2 separate regions of the Homo sapiens genome follow, and region 1 is linked to region 2. The links are contacts of gene promoters, found by promoter capture Hi-C in human tissues and cell types (Jung and others, 2019). All regions are on one chromosome and are shown on one strand. Each heading gives the region's core, a stretch centred on a gene start or on the middle of the fragment in contact. The rest is flanking DNA. Distances are from core to core; before and after follow the strand shown. Region 1 overlaps MSI2 (musashi RNA binding protein 2). Region 2 holds the start of MRPS23 (mitochondrial ribosomal protein S23).

Evidence for each region. The method cuts DNA at HindIII sites, captures the fragments that hold promoters and counts their contacts. A contact is called where the count stands out against the background at its distance.
Region 1: a contact is called between a fragment that was not itself captured here and the fragment with the promoter of MRPS23 in region 2, in 1 of the 25 tissues and cell types used here (dorsolateral prefrontal cortex).

What each region holds. Positions count from the first base shown.
Region 1 is chr17:57,269,774-57,272,473 of GRCh38, reverse strand. The region is part of intron 5 of MSI2 (musashi RNA binding protein 2); the gene reads right to left. Among named protein-coding and RNA genes, the nearest start is that of MSI2, 15 kb to the right of the region's middle. The HindIII fragment of the contact is 3,689 bases long and covers 1-2,700 here.
Region 2 is chr17:57,848,745-57,851,444 of GRCh38, reverse strand. It overlaps MRPS23 (mitochondrial ribosomal protein S23), which reads left to right and starts at 1,401. Exons shown (of 5, transcript NM_016070.4): 1 at 1,401-1,478; 2 at 2,035-2,205. The coding sequence starts at 1,435. RefSeq lists enhancers at 906-1,415, 1,091-1,420. The HindIII fragment of the contact is 5,598 bases long and covers 1-2,700 here.

The DNA of each region.
Region 1 (2,700 bases), core at 113-2,612, 580 kb after region 2:
GTACACCAACAGGTTTTCTTTTCCCCTCTCCCTGGAATTCATTTCAGAAATGAGAATATTGACTTTTCACACTCTTGGTTTGGTGTTCCAACAGTGCCCAGCTCTGTGATGTTGGCCTGACACGCCGCCCAGCCAGGCTCCGGCAGGTATCCAGAAAGTAAAAACAAAATGCCGCTAAGTTGAAAACTTTACTTTTCAGCAGGTGGGAATAAAGGACAAAACTCAACATTCACGGCCTCTTTAGGGTGGAGAACACCACAGTAAACCAAACAGGGTTTGTTGTTAAAAATTCCATCTGAAGACTTAGGAAACACAACGTGTGCATGCACAAACACACACAGGCGCCCATGCAAGCATGCAGAAGGAAACACTCAGCTGAGAGCAAGTCATGGGAACTGCTACTTGGCTGGTTCCTTGCCTCCCTCCCACCAGAGCGGTCACCTCATTAATGTCACTCAGCATCACATTTTGCTACACTAGGTCTTTCTGCACTCTGTTCCCCTAGGCGGCCCAAAAGCCCGCTTCCATTGTAAACTTCTGTGCTTTAGGAAACTATCAAAAGCTTTGATGGCAGAAAAGAAAAAAACTTTTATAGCGCCTCCCTCCTCACTCTTTCCCCTCCTTCAGTTTCTTTTCTTTGGTGCTTTATTCAACATCACTACACACACAAATCATGGTCTGAAAGTCGTTTACAATATGTCAGCTTAAAAAAAAAAAAAAAAAAAAAAAGATTGCAGTGGCCCGTCTATTTTGCAATTGCCAAAAGAGAATAATTCATTTCGGTGGAGGGTATGGATGAAGCCCTGAATACATTCCTACACCATTTTCTGCCCTTCAAAACAATAAAAATGTAAAAACCCAGATGAAGGAAGGCCCAAGGTGGCAGGAACGAGAATCTCTTGACCCCCAAGGAATTTATTCTCCTAGATCTTCTGAAGCACTCTCTCCCCAGAATGCATCATCAAGACCATTTTATTAGATTTTTCTAAACCCTTGAAATTGTCACATAATTGAAACAGAAACAGCAATTTAGAGCTCTTGAATGGATTTCTTAAAAAGAAGACTCTGTGCTTGCCCGACACCCCCGCTCCTTGGCTGCTCATACCCCTAACCTAAATTTAAGGTCCTTGCACACAAAACCCTATTTATTTTATAAATCCTCCCCTGCCATAAAAGTTACACATTCTCCTAATGCCTTAGATTTCAGGACGTTTGAGAGAAACTCATCCCAGACAACAGGCTAAAAAAAGAATCCATTAGCATTAACTTGCCTGTCACAGCCAGTGACAAATAAATGAATGTGATGCTTTCAGATCAGTCATTGGTAGAGCTACCCCCGGGCAGATAAAGACCAGTACAGGGAGAGAGAAGACTCATGGGGAGACCTCTCACACAGCAGTGTCTCAGCTGTTCCCTAGCTGCTCCCCGGGACTTTACTCTCAGAGGCAGCAAAAACACAGGCATCAGATACGGAAAAGGAAATGAATTCCTAATGCCCATCAAGCATCCCCAAGATAAAGGCTGCATGCTATCTCGCCTCGAGAGCCAGGACCTCATGAGCAGGCCAAGCCACTGACACAGAATTTTCCAATCTCAATGTGCTGTTCTATCCCTCACCCTAGAAAGGAGCAACAGTGCTAATCAACCCACGAGCTGCTCGGTTATAAGGTCCCCTGATGATGGGGGCAGGGACATTTTTCGGGGACAGTAACAGATGATGAATGCTTATACTGTACCCACAACATGCAGCTATCACCCTAGGCCATTCATATGCAGTAGCTCAGTCCATCTTACCCTTAGCAATTCTACAATGGAGGGACGGTTGCTATCCCATTTAACAGGTACAAGTGGAGGTGCAAAACCACTAAGTGACTTGTCTAAAATGCCATAGCTGGTAAGTGGCACTTACCTATGCTAAACAAGCTCTCAGAAAACAGGTAACAAAAATTAACCTGAAGCTTTCCAGCTAGACTATCACAAATTCTATTCCTCAGCCTGAGCATTTTATAGCCATCAGGCAAAGTGGCAACCTCAACTCTGCCCACTCATGTTGGATGCAGCAAGGCTTAGCAGAGAGGAGAACAAAGCCTTGGGATTCAGAGAGACTTTGGTCCAAAGGCCAACCCTGAACCTTACTAGTTCTATGGTTCTAGAAAGCTGTCTGCCCTCTCAGGCCCCAGTTTACCCACTGTCAAACGGAGATAATACCAACTATTTCAAAGGATTGTTGTAAGGATTAAAGAAGACTAAGTGTATAGTCTCGGTACTATGCCTATAACATATAAACTCACAATAAATGACAGTCATTATTCTGAATTAGGATTTTTCTTTTTAACTATTCAAAATCTCACAGCTAAAATAAAGCAAGATAGCAGCCAGGCATCCACCCTAAGGCTAACATTCCAGATGGTTGGAAGCCTGGTGCTATCTTCAAAAGAAGGGAGAATGGAAAATATCTTATCCTACTCTGGACCCAGTGGGACAACTGTCCCAGCTGGACCGACCAAGTGAGGCTGCTGCTACAACATACCACAGGGTGCTCAGCCCCAAGACCACACCTGCGCACTTCACACCACACGGAAAGCAGAGATCATGATTCCAAAAATGCATATTCTTCACCAAGCAGACACTCAGCCAAAGGCGACCCCAAGCAGATACCATCTATGAAGTCACAGGTCAGACTGCTCTGAGCCACGGGAC
Region 2 (2,700 bases), core at 152-2,651:
TGGATTCAGTAAGATAACACACACAAGCAGTAACTACTCATCAAACAGTCCCGTCCTCCCCTTCACCAGCCTCAGAGTGGGAGGACTCTAGGATGACTTGACTAGGCTCCCAGGAGACATTGTGTGTGATTCAAAACATTCATTGGATTAAAAGTTCAAATATGAATACAATCTCTTTACAAGTCAAACTCTGAAGCATGTGTAAAGGAAGAAAAAATTCTCCCTTGCCTGCCTGCAGTTTCACTCCGAGATATCCAATGTTCACAGCCTTGGGTGTCCTTCTGCAGAATTTCTATCCTCAAACACAAACATATATAGAGGTGTTTCTTTTTCCTTTTTTTTTTCTAACACGTTGAGATTCCACTAAACATGTTTCTTTGCAACTTCGTTTTTCATTTAAACATAAGTCATGTACCTTAACCTTGGTAAATACATGTGGATCTAGCTCATTCATTTTAATAGCTGCATAGGGTTCCAAAGAAAGTATGAACAATAATTTTCCAGCTATTTCTCATCTGATGGATTTTTTTTCCCACTACAAACAATGCTGCAACGATGATCCTTGCACAAACATCCTCATGAATTGATGCTTTAATTTCTAAGGGGTTCTTTCCCCGAAATATGATTACTGGGTCAAAGGGTATGCTACACACAGTTTATATTTTTTTACAGTTTAACACTGAGAGATGACTTTCTCCAGATTTTTTCGTTTCCCTCTCGGCGTCTGTTTGTTCCGGACACTTTCACTTTTCGAGTTCCAAGGAGGAGGTAGCCCGCGACACCGGCCGCGGGAAACACGAGTTGCAGCCAGCATCCTAGTTAGCGTGGATGCAGGTGGCACTCCGGGGACGAGGGGCTTAGTGGGGAGCACTACACAGCCAGAGGCGGAGGCCCGAGATCTAGCACGACGCTGGGCAAGTGACGGCCCCTCCCCGGCCTTGGTTTTCTTCTGCGTAGTCTGTGACTCTAAACAACATTAGGCTCAGCCTGGGCCTAGAGCTGGTGACCTCAAATCTCGGCCTTTGTTGGCTCCCCTAGGACTGTAGGCTGCGCTTCACCCCTGCTCTGCCCCACTACTTCTCCTCCGCGCGGCCCCACCTTTTCAGAGGAGTTGGCTCAACAAGGCGAGAGAGAGTAAAGCAACCATCATGATGAATCCCTCCCACAGCTCGGTCATTTATTACTTCTGTCCGGCTTTGGCTCGCTCCTGCCCTTTTGGCTCGGCTATCGAGTGCTCCTGCCTGAACCTGGCAAGTAACCTCGGAGCGCGCCCGTTCGGCCTATCACTTGCTTCTGCCTGCGCCGCTCTCCCGCAGGGGCTGCGGTGAAAGCCCAGCGATCCTTGGCTCGGCCAGCAACTTATGCGCCCTTTACCTGGAGCAGCCGCTTCCGGTTCCGGTAGCAGCTAGTCACGCTCGGTACCAGGCGCAGATCATGGCAGGCAGCCGGCTGGAAACCGTAGGGAGCATCTTCTCTCGGTGTGTGCTCCCAGCCGTGGTGGGCTGAGGGTGCCTCCCCCAGGCTGGGGTTCTCAGCCGGTCACGCTCTTCCTTGGAGCGGACCTGAGCAGGGCGAGGCGTATTGCAGGGTGCGGGGGCTGAGCTGGGTGAGGCCCTCTCATGTTTTCTCCTGGCTCCGAATAGTTGTGCCTGAGGATGCCTCTCCTTGAATTTATGTGTCATGTTAAAGATTATTGCAGCTGCCTCTCCCCGAGTGGAGGTCTCTAGGAAGAGGAAGGGAGGAAGAGCCTGATGGGCCTTCCTTATCAGGTCATGCAAGACCGCTCTTTGCATTTTTCCGTGACCGAACGTGGGTGGGACGCACAAAAGAAGATAGAGGGATTTAACTCTCCTGAGCGTTGTTAAGTTTGGTTTGGGATGTGGACAGATCTTCTCTGTAGGTGGGGAGCAGTCCTTCCCCGTTCTGTGTTGCAGACCGCATAATACCTTTAATGTCCCAAACTGTGCTAGACTGATTCAGGGGCTTTGGCAGGCTACTGCAAGTGACCCAGTTTCGTTCTGTTCCCTCCCTAAGGACTCGGGACCTGGTTCGGGCCGGGGTGCTGAAGGAGAAGCCCCTGTGGTTTGACGTATATGACGCCTTTCCCCCGCTGAGGGAGCCCGTCTTCCAAAGGCCTCGAGTGCGATATGGCAAAGCCAAAGCTCCCATCCAAGACATCTGGTACCACGAGGATCGGATTAGAGCGTGAGTGCTCAGCCCTGTAGTGGACAGGAGGCAACAGAACTTCAGAAGGGAAGGTTTCGGTAGCAGTCTGGGAATTCAAACATGAAATTGAGTCAGGGGTTTGCCCTGTGGAGAAGGCTTATCTAGCCAAATTAGGGAGGCAGCACCCCTTCCTCATAGTGAAACTGAAGTTCTGAAAAGTGGAATCTGGAGCCCAGCAACCGAAAGATCATTGCAATTATAGCCGCATGTTTCTGGGCATCTGCTTTGGGCCAGGCACTGTACTAAGCTCTTTGCAAGCATTATCTCATTCTCTAAAGGCCTTACTCTAACTTGTAAGGAAGGCATTCTTGTTTCCATTTTATTCAAGGAGACTGCGAAGCTCAAGGAAATTAGCTAACTTCTTGTAATTACTAAATATATAGGAGGGTGGCAGATCTGGGAATCACATCTCTGACTCCAAGCTTATGGTGATCATTATGCCGGCCTTCTCCACGAGTGGAGATAGGAGGAACG